6 separate regions of the Homo sapiens genome follow, and all the other regions are linked to region 1. The links are contacts of gene promoters, found by promoter capture Hi-C in human tissues and cell types (Jung and others, 2019). All regions are on one chromosome and are shown on one strand. The core of a region is centred on a gene start or on the middle of the fragment in contact, and the rest is flanking DNA. Distances in the headings are between cores, read along the strand shown.

Region 1 (4,511 bases), core at 1,695-4,194:
GACTTGCCACAGCTTCACTTGAGGCGAGGTGCCGTTGGGGGCCTTGCGACTCTGAGGCCGCCGGTCAGCAGATCAGGTATTCTGGAACAGCCCACGGTCCCCTGCCTGGCTCCCCCTCCACTTGGGCCTCGGGACACGAGTGACCAGGCCCCCACTTCTCCAGGAATCCGCAGCCCAGGGAAGGTTGTGTCAGCCACCAGGCCACAGGAGCAGCCTCTGCCCAGGCCCCCCCTCCCCCCCGCCCCCAGTTCCAGCCCCAGGTCTTCAAGTTCCTGCCAGGCCACCAGGACCCTATAAATAAGACCAAGGGCACAGCTGGGACTTAGCAGGGGCCCAGCGGGAGGAGCTGCTCACTCCGGGGACCTCCCCTGCCCCCACCACCAGGGAGGGTGTGAACCTTGGAGCCAGGCCTCAGGACACCCGAGACACCTGACACTCGGAGGGAACAGCCCGTGCTGGCTGGATGCGTCCTGGAGCAGGAGGCAGTCAGGGTGGGGCCGGGAACCAGGCGGTCAAGGCCCTTCAGTGAGGGCAGCCCCTGGCTTAGTGAGGCAGAACAGAGCACAGGGTTTGTCCCCATCACACCCAGGAACAACCCACTCAACCATGGGGACGCCGAGTATGGGAAATGGTGGGGAAGCGTTTTAGCATGTTTATTCATTTAGACTGGCTCTGGGCATCTGGTCCCCAAAGGGCCACACAGTGGCCCCTGTGAAGCCCAGCAAGTTCCGACAACCCGTGTCCCATTCCACTCCCGACCAGACTGAGGTGATGGTGTCCATTCCACTCCCGACCAGACTGAGGTGACGGTGTCCATTCCACTCCCGACCAGACTGAGGTGACGGTGTCCATTCCACTCCCGACCAGACTGAGGTGACGGTGTGCAGGTGGCAGAGCCACACACGAGAGGCAAGAGGCAGGGAGGGAGGTGGGGGCTGCTGGCCACTCACAGGGGGCCCCAGTGTCCTGCTTGGGCTGCTCATTTGGCACCAGTCCACGGCTCCCTCCGCCACCTTTGTTCTCACTGGAAGCAGAATGAGCCTGGCCCTGTAGTTCCCACCTGGGGCCCCAGCCCTTCATCCAAGCCCCATTCATCGACCCTGCCCCTCCTCCCTCCAACTGGGTCCAGTTCACTAAGCTCCCAGAACTGCTCAAGCCATTCCCACTTCCTGGACCATCGTCTTTTTTTTTTTTTTTTTTTTTTTTTTTTGAGAGGAGTTTCGCTCTTATTGCCCAGGCTGGAGTGCAATGGCACAATCTCAGCTCACCACAATCTCCGTCTCCCGGGTTCGAGCAATGCTCCCGCCTCAGCCTCCCAAGTAGCTGAGATTACAGGCGCACATCACCACGCCTGGCTAATTTTTGTGTTTTTAGTACAGACAGGGTTTCACCATGTTGATCAGGCTGGTCTCGAACTCCTGACCTCGTGATCCGCCCGCCTCGGCCTCCCAAAGTGCCAGGATTACAGGCATGAGCCACCGCGCCCGGCCTTTTTTTTTTTTTTTTTTTTTTTTGAGACGGAATCTCGTTTTGTCGCTCAGGCTGGAGTGCCCTGGCACGATCTGGGTTTATTGTAACCTCCGCCTCCCGCGTTCAAGCGATTCTCCTGCCTCAGCCTCCTGAGTAGCTGGGACTACAGACACATGCCACCATGCCCAGCTAATTTTTGTATTTTTAGTAGAGACAGGGTTTCACCATGTTGGCCAGGCTGGTCTCAATCTCTTGACCTTGTGATCCGCCCGCCTCGGCCTCCCAAAGTGCTGGGATTACAGGCGTGAGCCACCGCGCCCGACCGCATCATCTTTTTTATGTGACAAACTCCTAGTCATTCCTCAAACCGCAGCCCCTGTGACCCCCTTCCAAGGGTTATCCCAGCCTCTCCCTCTCTGGCCTAGCCCTGACCCTTCGGGGCTGGGTGTGCCTGTCAAGGTGGGGGCCACGGCTGCCGGGAGCATGGGTGGCAGCCGGAAGGAGACCTGGGGAGGAGCGCAGCCCTGGGAGGGGCGCCCATGGCCAGGGTGGGGGTGGAGGTGGTCAGGCCAGATAAAGGGAGGGGCCAGATGAGTGGACAGGAGGTGCTCCCGTAGGAATGGGGTCCCCTTCTCTAAATAGAGGGGCAGGACGGGGCCCACCTCAACCAGGACCATCCTCAAAAAGCCGACGGGGAAGGGTGAGATGCACACCACATTCGTGTCTCATTGGCTGTGGCCTCAGTTTCTTCATCTGTAAAATGGGGTAATGCCCACCCCAAAGGCTGGGAACCAGTGCATGTCCTGCATTAATGGGGGGTGATGGCCCCAAAGTGATCCTGCCGCATCCCCTCACCACACTCCCACCCACCCTGGAGAAACTGAGGCTTGGAGAGGCCAGTTACCTCCCGGGGTCACAGCATAGCCGGCTGGTGACTGGCTGGGCACAAGGCAGGCCTGGCACTGGCTAATCGCTCCATAAATGCCCTCTGAGGTCACCATTGACAGATGCAGGAGGCCAGGGCTGGCCAGGGCACCCCCACTCTACGGCAGGTGACTCCAGCCTGTTTTCCTGGACGACAGCCGCTGACTCAGGCCCCTCTTCCCGTCCCCCCCACGCGGGCGCCCCCAGGCGGAAGCACCGGGCCTGGGGCGACAGGAAGGGGGCGGGGCAGCGAGTCGCGCTGTACACCCCAAAACCCTGTCCCGCTGACGATTCGGGGTGCATCTCAGCCCGCGGCGAGGCGGGCCGAGACCCTTGGCTCGGGGCATTCAAGGGGAGTCCCCCCATGAACTGCGCCAAGCCTGGGTCCCGGGTGGCCCAGCCGTCAAGGCGCCCCAGGGCCAGGGCCGGCAGGCAGGGGCGGGGGCCAGTCTGCGTCACCGCCCGCCCGGCCCCCCGCCCCCCTGCCCGCCCTAACTCCACCCCGAGGGAAGGCGGCGCGGATAAAGGCTGAGGGCCGCGCGCTTGGCCCAGACCGGCCCGGCCAGCGCGCATTCGGCCCCGGACGAAGGTACTCGCAGCACTTGGAGCGCAGAACCGGCCGCGCCCGGTGAGTGTGGAGGGGGGGGACCTGCGGGCCGAGGAAGGGTGCCCACTCTAGATGGCTCAGGATGCCCGCACTTTTCTTTGTTCTTGGGACAGGAGGGATCGGGGAGCCTCCGGTCCTGGGAAGCCCCCCGGGGTGCGGGGTGGGAGGGGCTCCGCGCAGCCAGCGCCGCCCTGGCCGGACCTCAGCCCCCGCCCCGCCCCCCGGGGCACTCCCCCTTCACCGCGGGTGACCTTGAACTGGTTGCCGTTCCGCCCTCCGTTGCCCAGCCACACGGTCCCAGTCTCCCGACTACAGTCTTTCGTTCCCGATCGGGGTTCCTCCCCCGCGCGCAGCCCAGTCGTCTTCCTCCCCTGCCAGGGGCAGCGCGGCGCCCCCTCCCCGGGACTCCGGGCGGCGCTCCCAGGCGGGCCCGGCAGAGGGCGCGCCCGAGCTGCTGACTCACCGCATCCCCGAGCGCGCGCGGGCGCAGCCGGGGACGCCGCGTCACGTCACGGCTCGAGCGGGCGCGCCTCGGGGAAACGGGTTCTGCCCGCGGCCGGCGGGTGGGCGCGCGGGGCCCCCGGCGGCAGCCACCCGGCCACGTCACCGAGGTGCGGGCGCCCCGCCCCGGCCACAACTCCGCCCCCACGCACCACGCCCTCCCCGGGGCCGCGGCCCTAGCCTCACCGTCGCCCGCCCGCCCCGGGACCCCGGCCACGAGGCGCGGACTTCGCGCTCCCGCTTCCGCTCGCGGCTTTTCCCGGACGAAGGCGGCGGGGTGGCCCCACGACTTCCTGCCCCTCCCGGCGCCGGGAACAATGGCCCGCGCCCCCTCCCGCTCCCGGCCGCTCCCTTGGGATCGCGAGGGGTACCAGACCCGTCTCCAGACCTGGGTCCCGCGCCCCCCGGGGCGCGCCCGCCCTTTGTTGCGGGCTCCGGGCGCTTATGAATGGCTGCGGGCGCGGGCGGGGCGGGGGCGGGCGCGGAGAGGCGCCAGCCCCGCCCCCGCTGCGCTCCCCTTGGTCGCCTGGGCGCTGGGGGCGGGGCGAGGGGGCGGGCCCGGCTGCCACGTGGGGCGGTGCCGCGGCGGCTCTCATAGGCCCGGGCTCGCGGCCGACTGGGCGCTCGGCGCGCGGCGATTGGCCGGCGCCCGGCCGGCGGAGTAAGTAGTGAATGGGAGGGGGCGGCGGCCCCGCCCCCTGGAACGTTGATACATTATAACTTTTTTTTCTTGTTACTTTCACCCCCAGATCCTCCGAGCGGCGGCGACGGCTGTTGCTAAGGGAGGGGACGCGCGAGGAAGCGCGACCCGGGCGGCAGACGGCACCCAGCGCCACCAGCCGAGCGGCGCCCCCTCCCCAGGACCCTTAACCGCGCCGCGTCCCGGTCGCGCCCGCCGCCCTTTGAAGGAGAAGCAAGTGCCGTCCCCACCCCCGGAAGGCGCCCCCAGGAGCCGGAGCGACCTCGGAGCGCCACTCGGATTTTGGATTTCGGTCTCGCATTCCGCGGC
Region 2 (4,118 bases), core at 1,092-3,591, 610 kb after region 1:
CTTAACCCAGAAACTCAGAAAACCCAAATGGAGCTCTCAGGCCACGCCATCTGGCAAGAAAAGAATGACCTGGGTAGACAGGTGGGAGTCGCTTTCCCAACAGGCTCCCACTTCAGCCCCGTCTGTTCAGATCGCCCAACTTACCCCCAAAAAGCCAGGGCACTCCTGGACCCCTGCCCACCGCCCGGAGAGGCACCTCCCTTTCTGTTCCCAACGCTGCCTCGCCATCTTCACAGACCCCCAATGTCCCTCCCCGCGGAGATACACGGACCCCATTGCCCTCAAAAAGAGGTAACACCCTGGGACCCCTCCGCCGAGGATGTGTGGCTCCTCGCAGAAAACGCAGACCCCACCCAAGTCCTGTCTTGACGCCCTCGGTTCCCGTCTGTGTCTCAAGGTGGGCAGAGCCTCCAGGCCCCTGGGACCAGGACAGGGACTGAGCGAGGGGTGAAAAGAGTGCAGAACAGAGAGGGGGCGGCCGGCAGGCTACACACCACCGCCCCCACCCGCCCTCCTGCTCTCCACCCTCAGGCGTCCCAGCGCGGCTCCCCATACCCCAAAGATGGACCCTCAATTCTTCCGCAAGGCATTCGCGGCCCCTGCTCATCTCAGCCCCACCACTCTGGACGGCCCACTTCCCTTCGGCTGCTCCACGTGTCCCTACAATCCGAGCCCACGGACCAAGCCTCCTTGGAGTGTCCAGCTGCCCAAAGCGGCCACCGCTATGGCTATGAAATAGAGGCAGCATCGCACTCTTGATAGAAATGAGAAAATTGAGACCCAGATCGGGTAGAGGTCTTCTGTTTGGTGGCAAGGCCAGAATGCCAAGCCCAAGGGCAGCCGCACAGCTTTCCCCCAGCCCCCCACCCTCCCCGGAAGGGACAAGCACCTCTAATGCCCAAACCAGGGCCGGCCATCAAGGCCCACCGTCCCCTGTTGCCCAGTCCAAACTCCCAGTCCAGAAAGTGGAACCCTAGGAGGGGACGGAGTGAAAAAATACAGCCAGGCCCACCAGGCTCCCGGTTCCCCTCGCCGCCCCGGGGACTGCGCTAGGAGGGGCGTTGGTGTAGCCGAAGCGCTCCAACTACGCGCACCTTCCCGAATCGCCCGCCAGGTAGGGGTGAACAAACACGCCAGGGAAATACAGCAGTGTGGACCCGAGCCCCTCGAGGGTCCTCCAATACTATGAAGTTCCCCCGCCCAGACTCAGGCCCCAACCCGCGCTCCTAGCCTCGCCCTCCCCCTCGTTAAAATACAGAGAACGCAGAGAAAACGTGCCGGGCTCCCCCCATCCTGGCCCCACGCCAGGTGCTCTGCCGACCTCTGGGGAGAATCCGCGCGGCCACCCCGGCGGCGGCGACGCGGTTCCTCCTCCATTTTCACAGATAAGGAAACTGAGGCTGGGGGAGGGGGAGAACCCAGAACCCCAGAGCCGGATGCTCCAACCACGGTGCCCACCGCCCAGACCAGAACGCAAAAGAAAAAAAAAAAAACGGAACAAGGCCCAGAAAGGGAGAGAGGTGGTCTGCCCAGGAGTCTCAATCCCGCCCGCAGACCTCGCTGGGCCCCCGGAGCCCCCGCCACTGCCGCCGGGGCGGCCATCCGCTCGCCGCCCGACCGCGTGGCCGCCACGCCCCCCGCGCGCGCCCCACCCACCGAGGCCCCGCCCTGCCGGCCGGCGCGGCGGCGGCCCGGGCGCGCCCCCCTCCCCGCCCCCCACGCGCCACGCAGTTTCGGGGTCCTGGCGGGGGAGGGGTCTCAGGCGGCCGCCCCCGCAAGGGCCGGGATCGCGGCTGCACTCACCTGTGTGCGTCCGCAGGTGCGACTTTAGGTGCGAGGACTTGTAGTAGGCTTTGGCGCAGTCCGGGAAGGGACAGCGGTGGCTCTTGGCGGCGGCGGAGGGCGCGGCGCCGGGGGCGCGGCCCGAGGACGGGGACGAGGCGGCTGAGGAGGAGGAGGCGGGCGAGGCGCCCCCCGGGGCGGCTCCGGGTCCGCCGCGCAGGTCGGCCAGGATGCTGGCGGCCAGCAGGTGGGGCGCCGCGGCGGCGCCGGGGCCCGGGCCAGAAGCGGCGGGGGGCGGCGGGGGTGGCCCCGGGGTCCCGGGTGAGGCGGCCTCGCGGCGCGCCGCGCGCACATCCAGGCCGGCGGCGGGGCCCGCGCCCTCGGGGCCGGGCCGCCCGCGGTGCACCACGGCGCCCGAAGAGATGGCCATGAGCACGTCGGCGGCGAAGTAATCCACGCACGCCACGGCCGCCGACATGCCGAGCAAGGGCGCGCGGCGCGGCGGGCGGAGCGGAGGCGGCGGGAGCGGCGTCCGTCCGGCCGGCGGCGGCTGCTCGAGTGCGGGAGGCGGAGGAGGAGGAGGAGGAGGCCCGGCGCGCGCCGCCGCCGACGCCCGCGCTCGGCCTGCCCCGCCCCGCCTGACGCGTCCTGACGCACCGGAGCCCGCGGGGGCGGCCACAGCCCGCCCCGCCCGGAGGACGCCCCCTCGGGGCGCCGCAGCCACGCCCCCCGCCCGGCGCGCCCTCCACCACTCTCCGAGCCGCGCGCGGCCGCCGGGGGCGGGGCTCGGGCCGGAGGAACCCGCCCCCCGGCGCGCCCACTCCGGCCTCCGCCAGCGCCTAGCGTCTTAGGCCCGGAGCGCGCCTTCTCCGCGCTAGGGTGCAAGGCCGGGAGCCCCGCCCCCTCCCGGCGCGCCCCACTCCAGCGCGCGCCCCCGTACCCTTTCCCGGAGCACCACCCCCTCAAGCCGGGGCGGGAGGCCGAGGACCCCGCCCCCTCTCCGGCACGCCCCTCCTTCCGAGAGCGCGCCCCGCCCCATCCCGGCACGCCCCTCCCTCCCAGAGCGCGCCCCGCCTCCTCGCTGGCGCGCCCACCCCACGCCGGGGCGCGCGGCCGGCGGGAGCCCGCCCCCTCCCCGGATGCTTCCCTCCTGGCCCCGGGCGCGCCCCCGTTCGCGATGGAGGAGGGCTCCGATCCCCACGTGGCCGGGGTTGGAGGGGTGCGGAAGCGGCCGGCCCCGCCCCCAGGCCACGTGCGCGACCCTTCCCCCCTCTTCTCCCGGCCTGGGGCCCTGCTTTGACCCCGCACTCAGGCATCTGCTCGTCCTCTTCTCTGGGGTTCCCCCTCGCCGCTCACAGAGCCCCTCGGAGCCTCCCGGCCGAGACACCCGGTATCCCGCGCCCGCGGCGGGGCCCGGGAGGGTGGGGCAAGGCTGCGTTCGTTCCTCTTTTTGCACCCAGTTCCGGAGCTACTAGAGCGCGCCCCACTGGGGGTGGGGAGGGCCGGTTGGGTCCCAGAGGGTCGGGATAGGGGGACGGGAAGAGGGGGCCGAACGCAAAGGGCTGGGCTGGGCTGGGGGCGCCTGAGCGGGTCAGAGGTTCCCCGCCCTGCTGGGACACCGGGGTCCGGGGCTTCTCTTTCCATTCCCAGGCATCGATTCTTGGGGTTCGGACGGGAAAACTGAGGCCAGGTATTCGGGCCTCCCGGCCGCGAGGACGTCCAGGCCAACTTGTTAAATATTAGGGGGGACACCAGGGACGCGGATGGCCCAGTTCGCAGGCCCAAGGCGGCGGGGGCACAGAAACTGGGCGGCCCCCCTCGGTCGCGACCGCGCTCCCGCCCCTTCCCAGCTCCGGCGGGGCGGCGGGGACTGCGCAGTGGCCGGAGCTGCCTCCAGGGGGCGGAGCTGCTTTGGCCTGCGGCGACCTCCTGCTCTGGGTTGGGCATGGACAGAGGCCCTGACCCGATTCGGGGCTTCTCTAGCCCCATCCCCCGCCCACCTGCAACCCCAGCTGACGCCCTGAGGCTGACCACTGTTCCCTGGGTCGCCCGCACTGCGCCTGGGCTCAACCATGCTTGGTTAAGCCAGCTGAGCCCTCCCTGGGCCCCAGTAAGCCCACTCTACGTGGCTGGACAGAGCGGAGCCGAGAGAGAGGAGGTTCAGCGAAGTGTGGGAGGGTACAGGGTGCCCTGCACACACTTGCCCCTCTCCTAGGCCTGGGCTCCAGAGCCCTCTCTGCACCCCTACCATTCGGTGGGCGCTGGGGGTCGGCGTTCCTGCTCCTGCTGGGCCTCTGTTGTCTTTGAACTTCTAGGACGATGGGCCACTTGGGCAG
Region 3 (4,480 bases), core at 789-3,288, 550 kb before region 1:
GGGTGAGATGGGGGTGACGGCTGCCCGTCTGGGCCTCAGTCCACTCATCTATGAAATGGAGGCCCAGTAATCCATTTAATGCTCACGCCGGCCCCGTGATAATATTAGGTTGGTGCAAAAGTAATTGCACGAAAAAAATTAAATGGCAAAAACCACAATTAACTTTTTTTTTTCCGACAGAATCTCACTCTTTCCCCTAGGCTGGAGTGCAGTGGTGCCATCTCGGCTCACTGCCACCTCCACCTCCTGGGTTCAAGTGATTCTCCTACCTCAGCCTCCCGAGTAGCTGGGGATACGTACAGCCACTTGCTACCATGCCCAACTAATTTTCGTATTTTTTTTTTGAGACAGAGTCTCGCTCTGTCCCCCAGGCTGGAGTGCAGTGGCGCGATCTCGGCTCACTGAAAGCGCCGCCTCCCGGGTTCACGCCATTCTCCTGCCTCAGCCTCCTGGGTAGCTGGGACTACAGGCGCCTGCCACCACATCCGGCTAATTTTTTTGTATTTTTAGTAGAGATGGGGTTTCACTGTATTAGCCAGGATGGTCTCGATCTCCTGACCTCGTGATCCTCCTGCCTCGGCCTCCCAAAGTGCTGGGATTACAGGCATGAGCCACCGCACCCAGCCTAATTTTCGTATTTTTAGTAGAGACAGAGTTTCACCATGTTGGCCAGGCTGGTCTCATACTCCTGACCTCAAACAATCCACCGTGTCCCAACGTGAGGGGGACTGCAGGCTGGCGGGGGAGCTGGGGACACTGCAGCCCAGGACCAACCTATCCCGTGCCTGGTGGGGGCTCCTGCAGGAGGGGACCCACCCACCCTGGCCCCAATATACATTTTAATAGTTATTATAACAATATGTTTAAAACGAGGCAGGGCATGGCGGCTCACACCTGCAATCCCAGCACTTTGGGAGGCAGAGGCGGGTGGATCATTTGAAGTCAGGAGTTCGAGACCAGCCTGGCCAACATGGTGAAATCCAGTCTCTACTAAAAATGCAAAAATTAGCCAGGTGTGGTGGTGGGCGCCTGTGATCCCAGCTACTCGGGAAGCTGAGGCAGGAGAATCGCTTGAGCCCGGGAGGTGGAGGTTGCAGTGAGCCGAGATTGCACCGTTGCACTCCAGCCTGGGGAACCGAGACTGCCTCAAAAAAAAAAAAGAACATAGTGACAGTTACAGTAACAGAATATGTACTTGTTGCGCCTGTTGCTTCTTCTGTGCTTCTTTTGCCTCCCTGCCTTATCCTCCTGTTTTCCCTTTGTTGCCCTTTAAATCCAGCCCCTGCTGAGACTCCCCCTCCTGCAGGAGCCACGGCGCCCCCAGCTCCCCCACCAGCCTGGAGTCCCCCTCATGTCGGGATACGGTGTCCAGAAAGAAGGGGCCCGACAGGTGAGCTCACCTGTGGCTGAAGCAGTGGGCGGCCGAGACCACCCAGCGGGCTCGCAGCAGGAAGCCTCCGCAGTGATGTTGGCCCCCGAAGCGCACGGATGCCATGTAGGGCCTGGAGTGGGGGGTCACCTCGTGGCCCCCGATGATCTGGGCCCCCCAGGAGCCTGCTGGAGGGACGGCCTGAGTCAGGGACGAGGCGGGAGGAACGGATGACGGGGCTGGGGTCAGGGCAGGGGGAGAAGTAGCGGCCAAGACAGAGACAGGGGGTGAGATTAGAGACGGAGAGACCCAGAGAGCTGGAGACAGAGCCCAGACAAGCCCCCCAGATGCGCTGGGAGGGGCTCCCGAGCCCGGGAGATCCAGGGCTGGGCTGGGCAGAGACCCCGGCCGGATTTCCATCCATTTCCAGCAGAGGCAGCCACGGGGGCTCGGCAGATGGAGCAGGTGGAGCTCTCCCCAGGGTTCTCCCGGGACTGGGGGTTCCCGGGTGTGGCCCCCGTACGGGGACTTGGCGGGGGCCTGGGTGGGGATCCCGGGGGGCTCCTCACCGGGGGGCTTCACGGGCAGCATCAGGGCGGTGGCCACAGTCAGCAGAGGACGTCCCCAGCCCCTCAACCCGAGCCCCATGGCAGACGCAGGCTGGCGTCTCCCCGCAGAGGTCTTCGGGCCGTGGCTCCCACCCTCAGCCAACGGCCGGAAAGGGGGAGCCTGGCTGTGGCCTGTGGTCGGGAGGCCCCACCAGCAACGCCTGGAGCCCAGGCGGGCGTTTCTGAGAAATCGATGGTCTCAGGTGGTGGCTGGTAATAATCATGTTGATAATAATCATTGTCCCCTAGTCCGGAAACAGGGAGAGGAGGAGACAGCTCTGGGGCTGCAAGTGACCTCGGGAAGGCAATTGACCCTTCTGTGCCTCAGTTTACCCAGCCTCCACGTGGCCCAGCATGTGTGGGGAGCTTTCCGAGGAACCGAGGTCACAGCGGCACTCGAGACCCGCAGCTCGCCTCCGGCCCCCACCCCGCAAACCCCAGTCTTCCCATCTCCAAACCCAGGGCCGACCTCAGGGCTGTGGGGACAGCGAGGAAGGCCGGTCTCCTGGGAAGCTCTGATGATTTCTGCCTTTATTTTATTTTATTTTTATAGGTGGGGTTTTGCTATGTTGCCCAGGCTGGTCTCGAACTCCTGGGCTCCAGCGATCCTCCCTCCTCGGCCTTCCAAAGTGCTGAGATCACAGAAGACAGCCACTGCACCTGGCAGATTTCTGCCTTTATTCAGCAGTTATTGAGTGCCTAGTGTATACCAGACCTCATGCTAGGAGGTGAGGATGAGGCAGTGACCGCACCCCAGCCTGTAGCACTGACGTTCTGTGGGATCCGGAGTCCAGTGGGACATGGCTGTACATGGGGGTCTTCACCTTTTTTTTCTTTTCTTTTTTTTTTTGAGATGGAGTCTTGCTCTTGTTGCCCAGGCTAGAGTGGAATGGCACCATCTCGGCTCACCGCAACCTCTACCTCCCGGGTTCGAGTGATTCTCGTTCCTCAGCCTCCCGAGTAACTGGAACTACAGGCGCCCGCCACCACAGCCGGCTAATTTTGTTTCTGTATTTTTAGTAGAGACGGGGTTTCACCATATTAGCCAGGATGGTCTCGATCTCCTGACCTCATGATCCGCCCGCCTCGGCCTCCCAAAGTGCTGGGATTACAGGCATGAGCCACGGTGCCCGGCCTTTTTTTTTTTTTTTTTTTTTTTGAGAAGGAATCTTGCTCTTGTTGCCCAGGCTAGAGTGCAGTGGCGCGATCTTGGCTCACCGCAACCTCTGTCTCCTGAGTTCAAGGGATTCTCCTTCCTCAGCCTCCTGAGTAACTGGGATTACAGGTGCCCACCACCACGCCCCGCTAAATTTGTGTGTTTAGTAGAGACGGAGTTTCTCCATGTTGGTCAGGCTGGTCTCGAACTCCCGACCTCAGGTGATCCACCTGCCTCAGCCTCCCAAAGTGCTGGGATGACAGGCCTGAGCCACCGCGCCCAGCCCGGCAGGTCTTCACCTTTCAGTGGGAGCGTTCTTAGTGGCAAAGTTCAGGTCGTAAATTGCAGCTCACACAGCCGGGTGATGGCGTTCACGGCAGTGGCTAGCAGTGGGGTGCTCGTCAGCGCTTAATAATGAACAGGCTGGGGCCGGGTGCAGTGGCTCACGCCTATAATCCTAGCACTTTGGGAGGCCGAGGCAGGTGGATCACCTGAGGTCAGGAGTTCAAGACCAGCCTGGCCAACATAGTGAAACCCCGTCTCTACTTAAAGTACCAAAATTAGTCAGGCGTGGTGGCAGGTGCCTGTAATCCCAGCTACTTGGGAGGCTGAGGCAGGAGAATCGCTTGAACCGGGAGGTGGAGGTGGCAGTGAGCCAAGATTGCACCATTGCACTCCAGCCTGGGTGACAGAGCGAGACACCATCTCAAAAAAAAAAAAAAAAAAAAAGTCATCATTGAACGCTCCAGACCTGTGTTTTACCAAATGTAAAGTGTTCTCAATAAAGAATGAAGTGAAATGAAGCAACAGGAAATGCGTGGAAAGGAAGGTATGAAAAGGCCCCACAACGAACTCGGGCTCTGCGAGATGCGGGCGGCCTCTGGAAGCTAAAAAACGGCAGGAAACGAATTTTCTCCTGGAGCCTCCGGGAAAAGCCAGCCCTACCGATGCCCTGACGTTAGCCCAGAAGGGCCTGCAGGGGCTTCTGACCTCCAGCACTGCCAGAGAATAAATTGGTGCCATTTCGTTTATTATTATTATTATTATATTTTCTTGAGATGGAGTCTCGCTCTTTCGCCTAGGCCAGACTGCAGTGGTGCGATCTCGGCTCACTGCAAGCTCCGCCTCCTGGGTTCATGCCATTCTCCTTCCTCAGCCTCCCAAGTAGCTGGGACTACAGGTGCCCGCCACCACGCCCGGCTGATATTTTGTATTTTTAGTAGAGATGGGGTTTCACCACGTTAGCCAGGATGGTCTCAATCTCCTGACCTCGTGATCTGCCTGCCTCAGCCTTTCAAAGTGCTGGGATTACAGGTGTGAGCCACCGCGCCCAGCCTCATTTATTAT
Region 4 (4,331 bases), core at 471-2,970, 560 kb after region 1:
GCCTGGCCAGCCCTGAACTTCATAATCCCTCCCACCTGCACCGCCCCCTCTGCCCAGGATCAGCACCTGAGTTCCTGTCCTCATCTTGGAGATCTTCTCTCTGGCCGAGGCTGCCCATGCTGGTGGGGCTGTGGGAGAGAAGGGCCCCGGGTCACAGCAGTGACCCCAGCCCTTGCTGGGCACCACTCGGTCTTCAAGGAGCTCACAGCCTAGGGGCCGACCCTCTCAAATGCTACCTCCCACACTCATCTGCAGCCTCCCCGCCAGGCTCTGAATGTCCAGCCATAGGCTGTGTGTCTTGCCTTGGACATCCTGAGACCTAGGGGACCCCAAGATGATCCTCAAACCTGCAACAGCCCATCTGCCAGTGTCCCCCGCCAGCCACCCTGGTCGCCTCCCGCCAGTACAGCCTAGAAGGACTCTACCGCCAGCCATGCCAGCCTCTGGCCATGCCAGCCTCCGGCCACTGCTCCCCACACCTCGCTTTTCCTGAAAGGACCACTCTCACCTCCTCCTGGTTTCACTGACGGCCTCCTGCCCCTCTCCCCATGTGGCACCAGCTTAGGGGCTCAGTCATCTGTTCACTGACTGAATGGGACCCCCGGGCTATATGTTATATCTCAAAACACAGCATGAGGGTCAGGCATGGCCACTCCCCTCCTCACCCCCCCAGGCTGGGCAGCAAACTCTGATGGGGGCGATGGAGGCAGACGGACATCGTCAGAAGATCCTGGAATCTTCTCCACTAGCAGGTTCAGGAATGTGGGTCTGGCTCTAGCCCTGCACCGGGGGCCCTGGTTTGGCCCCCTATGAGGATGGGCAAACCACCCCTAGACGCCAGCAACTGGCCCCCCACCTGCCAGCTCTCTAGCAGTGCCCTCCCCGCCAAGCCCCTGCCCCTGTGTTCCGGCCACCCGATGCACCCGTCCTCACCCTTCTGGTCTCCATTCATACTTCCTAGCCCGGCCAGGCTGGGCCTTGTGCCTCCTCTCAGGTGCCCCTCTGCCTGGGGAGTCTCCCATCCCAGCTCTGATCACCGTCTCACCTCCGCGGATGCCAGCAGGACCTGAGCCTTCCTGAGTCACGTCTGAGTCACCCGTGTCCCCAGGTCCTGGTGGGGCAGGGCTTGGCTCAGGGCCAGCTCTGGTGCTCCTGGGAGTCTGAGCGGGGCCAGTGCCCATTCACCGCATGAGGAAAAGGGAGGTTCAGGGCGAAGAGGGGTTTAGGCTGTGGGACGGGGGAGAGGTGGGGGAGACCCCCGTGGGGGCAGACTGGGGATTGGAGAGTTGGAGAGAATGCTCAAATGGCCAGAATCCACTCGAAGTGTATCTGGGGGCAGAAAGAGACACGGACACAGCGCTGGCTTCCTGCCCCCTCACTAACTGGGATGCCCCATTACTCGGAAGCCCCCCACCCCGTCTTCCCGCAGCCGCAGGGGCACAGGACCGCCCTGGACAGGGCTCCAGAGTCCAGGGCTGTCTGCACCCGCCCCGGGGCCCCGACCGCGCGAACCTCTAGGGGCGCGCTCTCCACCCCCGCCGCCACGACCCCAGCTCTCAGCCTGGGTGGAGCCCAGAGAGGGTGCGCGGGCTCCCGGGGACGCACAGCAGTGGGAGCACCCGCCGCTCACCGGCGCAGGAGAGGCAGGGGGGGGCAGGCCGCGGGCGTCCAGGGCGGCGGACGTGGTGGAACCGTTAGCCCGGTGCCAACGGTCCTGAAACGGGGGGCGGGATCTCGGGGCGGGGCCTCGGGGCCCGGCCAAGGCGAAGGTGGAGCCAGTTCGGACCCCGGAAGGGGGCCGGGGGCGGGGCCTGGAGGGGGTGGGTGGGGCCAAGGCGAAGAAGGGGCGGGGCCTCGAGGGTGGGGCCGAGCGGAGCACGGCCGAGCAGGATGGGGGCCAGGCCTCAGGGACGCGGTCACGGCCGAAGGGCGGGGCCTCGCAGAGCCTCGCAGAACAGGCCGGGATAGAAGACGCTCGGGAGCAGTGCCTGGGTCTGGGGAGGGGCCGGGACTTTGGGGAAGGGACTAGAAGGAAGGCGAGGACGAGCGGGGTCTCGCTGAGCAAAGTCAGAGTAGGGGCGGGGCCAGGACTCAGGGGCTTGGCCAGAGCGGGAAGCGGGGTTGAGCATGGCCTTGCGGAGCAGTGTTATGGTAGGGGCGGGGCTGGGATCCGGAGCCGTTACAAAGGAGGAAGGCGGGGCCGCGCAGAGCAGGGTCAGGGTAGGAGGGCGCTCAGGGTGGGTCCAGGACAGAAGGCAGGGCCTTGGGAGGGCCTTAGGGAGCAGTGCCAGTGCAGGGGCGGAGCCTGAAAGGGAAGAGGGTGTCAGGGCAGGGCCGGGCCGGGCTTGGTCAGGGAGCAGAAAGAACCTGCACCGCAGGGCGGGGTTGGAAGGGTTCTTGGAAAGGTGGGCCTGGGTCAGGTCGGAATGGGCCTTGCAGACCTGACGGGGCTGAGGCTGGTGCGGCCAGCGTGGCAGAGTGCAGGAGGAAGGACCACAGGTAACGGCGGTTATGTAAGTCATGTCTGATCCGTGTCCTGGGTTCGTTCATTCATCCCATACACGTTCAACGAGCGCCTCCTAGGCGCAGATGCAGGGCTGAGCACCAGGCTGGGGAGAGGCGGTTATAGCCATTGAGACCACCCTAAGGCCAAGAGGAAGCCCGCAGGGTTCTTTCCAGCAGGTGGCAGGGGCTCAGGGATCCTTACTGAAGAAGTGGCAGGGGTGAGTTCAGCGACGAGGCTAGGGCGGGTCCAGGCCAGCGATAGGGCCTGGAGCCAGGGTCAGAAAGTGTGTGCGGAGGGGCTGCTGAAGATGAAATGCCCCCAAGAGTGAGGCTACCTGGGGTGAGGGCCCAAAGGGAGAGGCAAACATGGGTGGAGGGGGATAGGGAAGCCACCTCCCCCATCAAAGCGGCAACCACCTGAGGGCTCTCGGTGATCACAAACCCTCTTTCTTTGGAAGCCCAAATTGGAAGCCTGCTTGGCCCTGGAGGCTGCCAGGGAACCTCTCTTTTTTTGGAGACAGAGTCTCACTGTGTCACCCGGGCTGGAGTGCAGTGGTGCGATCAGAGCTCACTGCAGCCTCCACCTCCTGGGCTCAAGCGATCCTCCTGCCTCAGCCTCCAGAGTAGCTGGGACCACAAGCAGGCAGGCAGGCCACTGTGTTTGACTTCTCTCCTTTCATTCCTTCAACACTTCCCCTGTGCTTGCTTGCTTGCTCAGTGGTTACGAAAAAAAGCCGGGGCTGGGAGTTTGAACACACTGTTCTAATAAACTTTAGAAGAGACCTGGTTGGGTGCAGCTGTGAGGACCAGATTCCCCCACCCCAGCCTTCGCAGGGGGCACTATCTGGGGGCAGGAGCTTGCCCAGGGCACTTGTGCAAAGGCCCTGAAGCCTCCAGTGGCAACAGGTGGCTTCACAAGCTGAAGGGAGTCCCTGGGGGCTGAAGCCAGGGCTGGCCAGCCTTGGGACCCCCCGTGGGCTATGTCCTGAGGCACCAGGTGCGTTCTGGGAAGGGGGAGGCAGACATCACATGGGAATGCACAGAAACAGAGCGCATACACGCCTGCGCCATTTATTTAGAACACAGAGCCGGGCACAGTGGCTCATGCCTGTAATCCCAACGCTTTGGGAGGCCGAGGCAGGTGGATCACTTGAGGTCAGGAGTTCGAGACCAGCTTGGCCAACGTGGTGAAACCCCATCTCTACTAAAAATACGAAATTAGCCAGGTGTGATGGCACAGCCATAATCCCAGCTACTCGGCAGACAGAGGTTGCAGCCAGCTGAGACTGGGTGACAAAGCGAGACTGTGTCTCAAAAATAAAGAAGAAAAAGAAAACAACTCCTTTACAGAAGAGGTGGGAGAGTCACTAGTCACAAGAACAGCCCTCGAGGGTGGAAGGGCCTGGCCTAACCACGGTCCCCCAGGAGGGCCCTGGAGAGATGCAGAGCCCAGAACCGGGAAGGGAGCCTTGGGATGGAGTCCTCTGGGGAGGGCCCCCACGTCCTCATCCCGGGACCTGTGCCCTTGGCCTTGCCCTTCAGCAGAAGCCCAAGACCAGGGTGGCAGGAAACCCACTCCAGGCAACCTGCCCCCAGCTGCTGGGTCCTGTCCCGCAAGGCTCATCACTTTTTCTACTTGAGGTCAATAAAAAGTGGGGCCTAAACACCCCTGGGCCTCCCATTTCCAAATGGGGTCCCGATGCAACCACAGTTGCCCGAGACGTGCGTGCACTACACAATGTGTGGCGTTTCCTGGCAAGGGCCGGAGCAGCTTTCCGTGTCTGCACTCCATCCTTTGACGGGCAACACACAGCAGCTCCCAGTCT
Region 5 (4,143 bases), core at 1-2,500, 660 kb before region 1:
CCATCCACTGTCAGCCGGGCACATGCTGGCCCTCCCTCAAGTACCACTGAGTGCCTCCTGGGTGTAGGAAGAGGGCCATCTCTGCCCCGGTGGCCTCGAGGTGCAGATGGGTGGGGGGCACCCGGCACACGGGACATCGTGGCTGAGAGGACGTCAGGCCAGGTGCCAGGAGGGTCCCAGGAGGGCCTCCTGCCTCCAGGTGGGGATGTTCAGCCTCCACTTCTTCGAGTGTGACTGTCTGTCTCCTCTCTCTCACTTGCCAGCTTCCTCACCTGCCCCCTCCCGGCTGTCTGGTGGGCTGGGTGGCTAGGGACAGAGGCCTCATGTCACCTGGCACCAAGCAGCACCCACGCCCAGCCGGCTTCGGCCCAGAAGCAGAGCCTTGGGAAGCACCTGTCTCAGAGCTGGGGACTGGAGGCACTGGGGGCACAGCTGCACCCGGAGTCCGAGGGGTCGGGGAAAGGAGGCAACCCCGGGGCAGGGGGCTCTGGTACCCGTGCGAAGGCGCTAGTGGGCTTTGGGTCTCCCTGTGACCCCAATCTAAAGCCCACCAGACCTAGAGGAGACCCCCGCCGCACGGCTCCCCAGGGCACTGTTTGAGGGGTGGGTGGGAACCCCACACCCTCGGGTGGCTTTTCCAGTTTTCCTTGTCTGGCTGGGCTTGGCCTCAGTTTCCTCAAATGCAGACCAGGGAGAGGAGTGCCTGAGTCTCCCAGAACGGCGCCCAAGCCGGCCTGCCCCTCCCCACGCACTCAAGGGTCTCTGTCCAGGGCCCACAGGCGACCCAGCAAGGGCTCCTGTGACCTTTAGAAACACCCTTTCGTCGTGGAAGTCTTCAAACCTCACAGAAAGCAAGGAGGCGCTGGCCGTGGCGGCCTCTCCCGTCTCCCAGGCCCGCGTCCACCCTCCCCGCGCCGGTGCCCTCCGGACAGAGGTGGAAGCCGCGGCGCAGGAGAGGCGGCTCCGGCCGGGCAGCGGGGCCCGGTGACCTTGGGCGCGTCCTTACACGTCGCGGGCCTCAGTTTCCCCTCCTGGGGAGAGGCCCGCGCGGGGCTCCGAGGCCTCGGGCCGCGTGACCTTGGGGCGCCCCCGACCCCGCGGCCCGAGTTTCCCGGCGCCGAGCGGAGGCGGCGCGCGGGGAGGGGGCGCAGCCGAGGCGGGTCTCCCGCCCCCGCCCCTCCCCCGCCCCTCCCCCGCCGCGAGGCTCCGCCCCCCGCGGCTCCGCCCCGCCCCGCCCCCGCCTCCCCCCTCCCTCGGGCTCCGGCCGGCGGCGGCGGCGGCGGCTCCGCTCCGCACTGCCCGGCGCCGCCTCGCCATGGACGCGCGCGGGGGCGGCGGGCGGCCCGGGGAGAGCCCGGGCGCGACCCCCGCGCCGGGGCCGCCGCCGCCGCCGCCGCCCGCGCCCCCCCAACAGCAGCCGCCGCCGCCGCCGCCGCCCGCGCCCCCCCCGGGCCCCGGGCCCGCGCCCCCCCAGCACCCGCCCCGGGCCGAGGCGTTGCCCCCGGAGGCGGCGGATGAGGGCGGCCCGCGGGGCCGGCTCCGCAGCCGCGACAGCTCGTGCGGCCGCCCCGGCACCCCGGGCGCGGCGAGCACGGCCAAGGGCAGCCCGAACGGCGAGTGCGGGCGCGGCGAGCCGCAGTGCAGCCCCGCGGGGCCCGAGGGCCCGGCGCGGGGGCCCAAGGTGTCGTTCTCGTGCCGCGGGGCGGCCTCGGGGCCCGCGCCGGGGCCGGGGCCGGCGGAGGAGGCGGGCAGCGAGGAGGCGGGCCCGGCGGGGGAGCCGCGCGGCAGCCAGGCCAGCTTCATGCAGCGCCAGTTCGGCGCGCTCCTGCAGCCGGGCGTCAACAAGTTCTCGCTGCGGATGTTCGGCAGCCAGAAGGCCGTGGAGCGCGAGCAGGAGCGCGTCAAGTCGGCGGGGGCCTGGATCATCCACCCGTACAGCGACTTCAGGTACCGCCTCCGGGAGGGCCGGTCGGCGCGAGGGGGCCCGGGGAGCCGGGCGCGCGGGGAGCCGTCCTTGGAGCGCCTGGGGAGGGCGGGGCGGCGCGCCGGGCCGGTGACCTCGGGGCTCCTCGGTGACCTCGGGCGTGTCCGGGACCCGCCCCGGAGTGACCCCGGCGCGCGAGGCTCCGCCTCTGGGGGGGCTCCCCGGGTGACCGCGGAGCGCCCCCCTCCCACGCACCCCGACATCCTCCGCCCTGCGGCGCGGCGGGTGGGGTGGGCCGCAGGGCCAGGGTCTGAGCGCAGAGGGGCAGAGAGGACGAATAGAGGGGAACGTGGGCCCCAGAGAGGCGGCGGAGCGGGAGGGAGGAGGAACGAAGGGCGCCCGGGAAGGACGCGCCCCAGGGAGGCCGGGGGAGAGGGGGTTAAGCGGCTCCCACGGCGTCCACCCGCGCCCCGCCTGCGAGGAGGCGCGCCCGGGGCCGCGGGCCTGGAAAGCGTGCGGGTCCCCAGGCTGTGTCCCCGGGAGCCGCTCCACCCGAGCCGCGGGCGGTGCGCGCATGCGGCGGTGGGTGTGTAGACGCCGCTGTGGATCCAGCCGGCTAATGCGTGGAAGGCTCGGAGCAGGGCCGGCGCGGGGCCACCGCCACTGATGTTTGCGGTCGTGGTTCCTGGGCTGTGCGTGCTGTGGCCGGAGAGCGAGACCGGCGCGTGTCCCCGTGGGCTGTGTGTGAACAGGGGCCCGTGACCGCGGCGGGGTTCCCGGGGCGCGAGCCTGTGGCCGGAGAGGTGTGTCTCCAGGAGTGTGTTTGCGTGGTGGTCGCGGGCGTGTGCGCCTCCGGTGGGTTTATTTTGGTGGGACGTGTGGTTTGTGTGTGTTGGGACCAGGTGGCGGGCGTGCGCGTGTACGCCCGGGGCCGGTGTGCACCGGTGGGCAGTAGTGTGAGCCGCAGGCAGGTCTCACACACGCGACCATGGAGGGATGCGTGTGTGTTTGTGTATCCACGAGTGGGGTGTGAGGTGGGGTGTGGAGGGTGCAGGTGGAGGGTGTAGGTGGGGCCCGCCGGGCTAGCGAGGCCGGGCGCGCGGGACGGGCGCGGTTTCAGCACCACGGACAGCGCGCCGGACCTGGGAAGCCTGCGGTTTTCCCGCCTGTCTCTCCTCCTCCAGGCCTGGGCGCCCCAGGACAGCCCCCACGGACCCTGGACCCCCGGAACTGGGCAGGGAGGCTGTGGGGTTCTCTCTTCCCCTGGATTCTCTGCACCCCTAGTGCTTGACTGGAGAAACTGAGGCCTGGGGCACATGCGTCCTGGACAGAGCCTGGAGGAAGGCCCTGGAATCCTCCTCCCACCCCAGGCCTTCCTGAGAGGTGAATACAGCTTTGACCAGAAGCCTGGATTTCGAGACAGGCCAGGGGTGGGAGGAGCCCCGAAATCCCCAGAGGGGCTGTGTCCGGCCCCTCCCACCCTGCCTCTGTGCCCCACCGGGAGAGCTTGGTCAGCATCTGGGCTCTGGCCTGCGAAATGTGGACAGTGAGCGGGAAGGACTGGACTTCCAGGGCTGCTGGTCGGCCTGGCCCCACTTCCAGTCGGGCAGTGGCACCCCCTGACCGGAGAGGGACGCGGTGGAGAGGGAGCTGTAGAACGTGCCCACTCCCCTCCGTCCCCTCCAGCATGACCTTCGACAGAGATGGGTGCACCGCAGCGTGGGGGCTGGCAGGTGGAGGCCCACACCAGCCACTCCCTCCCCTGGGCAGCTCCAGCGACCCCCTGGCTGCAGAGGGGCGGTCGGTGGCCTGGGGGGCAGGTGGGCAGATGGCTGATCCCGGGGCTTGGGGGGAAGGCCGGTGGTAGGAGTGAAGCCCTCTCATCCTTCCACCCTCCTTGGGCGTGGTCGCCTGGAGGCCTGGGCAGGCTGTGGCCCCGCTCTGTGCTCTGAGGCATAGAGGGCTCAGAGGCCCCTGTGTGGACCAAGTGCAGCCCCACCCCGGCAGATGAGTGTTGAAGTGGAACTGAGCAGGCAGGGAATGGGGTTAGCGGGGCCTGTCTTCGGGACTAGGGGAGTCACGGCAGTCAGATTTTAAAAAAGGATTTCGATGTTGCCAAGCTGGGTGCACGGGGCCCCTAGGACCCTCCCCAGGCTTGGGACCTGTGCCAGTGTGGAATCAGTGTGGAAAAAGACCCCCAAGAATATCTCAAAAGCTCC
Region 6 (4,509 bases), core at 1,599-4,098, 680 kb before region 1:
ATGTTTTTTAGGTCACATTGTCATCCCACCCAGGATCTTGGGCCAGGAATTTACGCTCCGCTGAAAGGACGTTCTGACCGGGGGGTGTTCACGCTCCCAGACTAACACAGCGGCCTGTGAATCATGGTTCTCTCTCTCCTGAGACGAGAGTACTGAGGGTAGACATTAATTCAGCCCAAGCGTACAGCTGTGGCCCCAGAAATTGGTCAATTTGATCCGCGAATCCAAAAGGGTCATCTAACAGTGGTTTGAGTTCTTTTAGATTTCTAACCTCTGAACTGGTTAAAGGGGGCATTTACGAAGTCAATATCCCTTCCTCCCGGTGGTCCTTCCCTAAAGGGGAAAAGGGCTGAGGCAGGTCTTTTTGAGCAGGAGGCAAAAGGAAAGTTCTGTGGGTTTTTGTTTGTTTGTTTGTTTTTTGAGACGGAGTCTCGCTCTTGTTGCCGAGGCTGGAGTGCGGTGGCGCGATCTCGGCTCACTGCAAGCTCCACCTCCCGGGTTCAAGACATTCCCTGCCTCAGCCTCCCGAGTAGCTGAGTAGCTGGAATTACAGGCGCCCGCCACCACGTCCGGCTAATTTTCGTATTTTTAGTAGAGGCGAGGTTTCATCATCGTGGCCAGGCTGCCAGTCCTGAACTCCTGGCCTCGTGATCCACCCGCCTCTGCCTCCCAAAGTGCTGGAATTACAGGCGTGAGCCACCGCGCCCGGCCGAAAGTTTCGAATATCCCTTTGGCATTGTTCTGTTTCCCGTTGGAGCTTTCCTGAGGAAGGGGCATGTTCTAGTGGCTGTCCAGCGGGGATGTGGGTGGCAAGGTCCAGGTGGTTCTATAGGGGAGGGATGGAGGGGCGGAGGAGCGGGTGGGGGAGGGGCGGAGGGGCGAGGGGTGGGTGGGAGGGGCGGAGGGGCGGGTTGGGGAGGGGCGGAGGGGTGGGGTGGGTGGGTGGGGGGGGCGGAGGGGTGGGTTGGGAGGGGCGGAGGGGGTGGGTTGGGAGGGGCGGAGGGGGTGGGTTGGGAGGGGCGGAGGGGGTGGGTTGGGAGGGGCGGAGGGGGTGGGTTGGGAGGGGCGGAGGGGTGAGTGGGGGAAGGTGGTCTAGAGGATCCCACCCTTCTTTAGATATGGGGCGTCTCTGCTAAAAATACAAAAATTAGCCGGGCGTGGTGGTGCGCGCCTGTAATCCCAGCTACTCAGGAGGCTGAGGCAGGAGAATCGCTTGAACCCGGGAGGCGGAGGTTGCAGAGAGTCGAGATCGCGCCGCTGCACTCCAGCCTGGGTGACACAGCGAGACTCCAACACACACACACACAAAAGATATGGCGCGTCTCATTCATTCACAAGTTCCTCTTCAAAGGTTTGGCTCGTTCAGCGCCCTCGTTCTTCGTTTCCTACTTCCAAGGCCAACCTGACTTCCTCACCCTCTGGGCCTCCCCGTCTGAGTCTCAGTAAACAAGTTTCCCGCCGGTCCTGATCTGCAGAGATGGCACCTGCCACCCACTCTGCACATCCCCCTCCCGTCGCCACGGGCTCTTCCCGCCAGTGTAGCCACATTCCTGCCCCTTTCCAGTTAGCCCTTCGCGTTCGGCTTAGTCTGCGGTCCTCTTGCATTGCGACTCCGAGTTTAACTTCCAACACACACTTTCAACCTCCAAGAGACGCCCCCACCTGTGTCGCCCCAATAGCGACTTTTCTCACCGTGGTCGCCGCGGAACTTCAAGGGTCCTTCCTACCCGCGTTGCTGAGAGTCTGGGTTTACGCGTCACCTCGGGCGGGACCCGATCCTCCGCTCCTGAGGCCCCCACAATGAAGCAGTCGGACGCGTCTCCCCAAGAAAGGTAACCGCCAGCCTCTCCTGAAACAGAATGGGATCCAAATGGGATATTTGGGGGCGGCGAGTCGGTCCCGCAAAGAGAAACCAGCACTTAGAAAATTTCTCAGCGAGACCACTTTACTTGTACGGAAGGGGGCTGCCTGCGTGGGATGCAATCTCCAGAGCACACGGGACAAAGGAAGGGAGCTTCTGTTCCTCTGTCCTTTCCCTGTTGGCTGGGGTTGGACGCCCACAATCTAAGCTGATCCCGGTTGGCTAAAACTTAAAACTTTTTTAAAATAGGGTAAACGCGCCACCTGCGAGGAAAGAAGAAGGGGGTAAGGTTGATTGACAACTTTAGACCTGGAAGTTGAGTTTCTGAAGAGGAACTTACTTGTCCCAACCAAATGGTGCACAGGACGTTTATACTAAGAAATTATTCATTTTCTGAGATCCAGATTCAAGTGCCCTTTAAGTATTTTTATTTGGGCGGAGGAGGTCACTTCCTCCCACCTAATTTATTAATACGTTCATATATATATATATATATGTACATTTTTAAAGGCAGAGATGTGCGTCTCGCCATGTTGCCGCGTCTGGTCTCGAGCTCCCGGGCTCAAGCGATCTTCCCGCCTCGACCTCCCAAGGCTCTGGGAGTACAGACGTGAGCCACAGCGGCCGGCCCGTGTTTAACTCAGATAAAATCTGGGTAACACACTTTCAACGCTTCAACCCCCTCGGGCGCACCGCTCTGCGCTCATTGCAACTTTGAAAGCAGGAAGGAAGAAATGCGCAGGCTCCAGCCGCGTCCCCGCAGGCCCCACTCCCGTTTCCTAGCAACGCCGGGTCACGTGCGCCGCCGCCCGGATTCCGTAGCGTGAGCCTGCCGGAGCCGGCGCGTACATGCGAGCGTGTGCGCGCGTGCGCAGGCGGGGCGACCGGCGTCCCCGGCGCTCGCCCCGCCCCCGAGATGACGCCGTGCGTGCGCGCGCCCGGTCCGCGCCTCCGCCGCTTTTTATAGCGGCCGCGGGCGGCGGCGGCAGCGGTTGGAGGTTGTAGGACCGGCGAGGAATAGGAATCATGGCGGCTGCGCTGTTCGTGCTGCTGGGATTCGCGCTGCTGGGCACCCACGGAGCCTCCGGGGCTGGTGAGGAGCGGGTAGGGGGCGGGGGTGCGGTCCTGCAGGGGCCGGGAATGGAGGCCGCGGTGCCGACCCGAAGCCGACGGGAGCCTGGGGCCTCGGCGCGGGGCGGCCTGGGGTGCGAAAGGCCGGCCCCGGGGGCTTCCCGCGCCAGCATGGAGCTTGGGGGTGAAGTCCCAGGGTTTGAGGGGGGACTAGAGGTTCCTCCCGGCGCGGCCTGCCGGGCTCCCCCGGGCGCTCCGGCCTCGAGCCCGGCCTCTGTGTGTGGGCGTGAAGCTCCCTGCTTGGAGGCGGGAGCCAGGGGGTCCTGGCCAGGCCGGTCTTGGTCAGGGGAGGTGGGCGTCTTGCTTTTCGGTCACCTGGGGTTGGGGGTGACCTGCTTCCTGGGTGAGGGCGTCTGCGAAGGCGGTTGGAGGTGGCCCGCCCGCCGGTCCCATCGGCCAGGAGAAGGGAGACCCAAAGCCTGGGTGAGCGTCCCCTTTGGCCTGGAGCCAGGGGTCAGGGGCTGGTTGGTGCCTGCCCAACCCGTCCTGCTGGGGCTGGACTCCGCAGGACCTGGGGAAAGCGGCCTGGGCGTGGAATCTGGAGACGGGTCCACCCTGCCTGCGAGTGTTAGGGTCAGAGACCCTCCCCTGAGACTCTCTGGGGCCCCCGCAAGGGCCCGTGCGGCCTGGAGCGATCATCTTGGCGCTCCCTTCTGGAAAAGGGGCTTTTGTCCTCCAAGAGCACATGGAGGCTCTGAGTGGGTCAGCCCTCCGGATCGGGAAGGGATTACCGTTCTTCACGGGATTTAGCCCTGGCGTCTTGCCTAGGGCGTGCACCTGCCCCCGGGTGTTCTCCCAGACTCTTAAGACCTCGCAGGCTCCCTCGAGGGGCCCTGCGTGGAAGGGAAGGCGGAATCTCCCTCTGATTCTGCCTGGATTCAGCACCCAGAATGAGGTGGTCTCTGAACGCCCCTCCTCCTTTACAGGCGAGGAAACAGCCCTGTGGGAAGTCGAGGTTCCAAGGTCACAGTGAGGGGGCCCTGGCCACCCGATTCAGCGCAGGAAATAGTGAGAAAGTCGTTTTTAGCCGACTCTGACCCGCATTCGGTTTCCAGTGCTGTCTTAGGAGGGCCGTGTGTTGAGGGTGGGCAAACGTGGTTTGGAGAGCGCATTTGGGAAATGGATTGAGGTGTGTTTTTCCGGGAGAAAAGCATGACATCCTTTCTTGCTTCATAGAAAATTTCTTCCTTTGTTGAGACCCCCATTTGGTTCTGGGTTAAAGATTTATAGTGAGGCCGGGCGTGGTGGCTCACACCTGTAATCCCAGCACTTTGGGAGGCTGAGGCGGGTGGATCACCTGAGGTCAGGAGTTCAAGACCAGCCTGGCCAACATGGTGAAACCCCATCTCTACTAAAAATACAAAAATTAGCTGGGCGTGTTGGCGCACGCCTGTAATCCCAGCCACTCAGGAAGCTGAGGCAAGAGAATCGCTTGAACCTGGGAGGTGAAGGTTGCAGTGAGCTGATATCATGCCACTGCACTCCAGCCTGGGTAACAGGGAGACTCTGTCTTTAAA

What was found. The method cuts DNA at HindIII sites, captures the fragments that hold promoters and counts their contacts. A contact is called where the count stands out against the background at its distance.
Region 2: a contact is called between the fragment with the promoter of KLF16 here and the fragment with the promoter of MIDN in region 1, in 4 of the 25 tissues and cell types used here (dorsolateral prefrontal cortex, lymphoblastoid cells, spleen and 1 more).
Region 3: the fragment with the promoter of PRSS57 here is called in contact with the fragment with the promoter of MIDN in region 1 in 2 of the 25 tissues and cell types used here (IMR-90 fibroblasts and lymphoblastoid cells).
Region 4: the fragment with the promoter of ATP8B3 here is called in contact with the fragment with the promoter of MIDN in region 1 in 1 of the 25 tissues and cell types used here (heart left ventricle).
Region 5: the fragment with the promoter of HCN2 here is called in contact with the fragment with the promoter of MIDN in region 1 in 1 of the 25 tissues and cell types used here (lymphoblastoid cells).
Region 6: the fragment with the promoter of BSG here is called in contact with the fragment with the promoter of MIDN in region 1 in 3 of the 25 tissues and cell types used here (dorsolateral prefrontal cortex, lymphoblastoid cells and small bowel).

The regions. Positions count from the first base shown.
Region 1 is chr19:1,245,639-1,250,149 of GRCh38, forward strand. MIDN (midnolin) reads left to right here and starts at 2,945. Exons shown (of 9, transcript NM_001388306.1): 1 at 2,945-3,022; 2 at 4,252-4,511. It overlaps LOC102723811 (a long non-coding RNA gene), which reads right to left and starts at 2,434. Exons shown (of 2, transcript XR_007067082.1): 1 at 2,375-2,434; 2 at 630-2,223. RefSeq lists enhancers at 341-1,086, 3,022-3,555 and silencers at 2,399-2,938, 3,029-3,488, 3,549-3,668, 3,699-4,168, 4,349-4,398 and 1 more. The HindIII fragment of the contact is 34,576 bases long and covers 1-4,511 here.
Region 2 is chr19:1,861,238-1,865,355 of GRCh38, forward strand. It overlaps KLF16 (KLF transcription factor 16), which reads right to left and starts at 2,342. Exons shown (of 2, transcript NM_031918.4): 1 at 1,804-2,342. The coding sequence starts at 2,260. RefSeq lists enhancers at 1-770, 3,878-4,118, silencers at 1,585-1,754, 1,805-1,984, 2,315-3,414, 3,485-3,704 and a promoter at 2,231-3,435. The HindIII fragment of the contact is 11,768 bases long and covers 1-3,376 here.
Region 3 is chr19:693,414-697,893 of GRCh38, forward strand. PRSS57 (serine protease 57) reads right to left here and starts at 2,039. Exons shown (of 5, transcript NM_001308209.2): 1 at 1,939-2,039; 2 at 1,401-1,554. The coding sequence starts at 2,017. The HindIII fragment of the contact is 19,970 bases long and covers 1-4,480 here.
Region 4 is chr19:1,810,556-1,814,886 of GRCh38, forward strand. ATP8B3 (ATPase phospholipid transporting 8B3) reads right to left here and starts at 1,721. Exons shown (of 29, transcript NM_138813.4): 1 at 1,631-1,721; 2 at 934-1,329; 3 at 67-128. The coding sequence starts at 1,181. RefSeq lists enhancers at 1,229-1,974, 2,355-2,514 and a silencer at 1,435-1,804. The HindIII fragment of the contact is 30,703 bases long and covers 1-4,331 here.
Region 5 is chr19:588,631-592,773 of GRCh38, forward strand. It overlaps HCN2 (hyperpolarization activated cyclic nucleotide gated potassium and sodium channel 2), which reads left to right and starts at 1,251. Exons shown (of 8, transcript NM_001194.4): 1 at 1,251-1,947. The coding sequence starts at 1,316. It also overlaps the pseudogene LOC100420586. RefSeq lists an enhancer at 1-20. The HindIII fragment of the contact is 14,322 bases long and covers 1-4,143 here.
Region 6 is chr19:569,748-574,256 of GRCh38, forward strand. BSG (basigin (Ok blood group)) reads left to right here and starts at 2,849. Exons shown (of 9, transcript NM_001728.4): 1 at 2,849-2,954. The coding sequence starts at 2,888. It overlaps BSG-AS1 (BSG antisense RNA 1), which reads right to left and starts at 2,501. Exons shown (of 3, transcript NR_184018.1): 1 at 2,362-2,501; 2 at 1,693-1,849. RefSeq lists enhancers at 1,097-1,669, 1,750-1,799 and silencers at 2,620-2,839, 3,010-3,189. The HindIII fragment of the contact is 13,063 bases long and covers 1-4,509 here.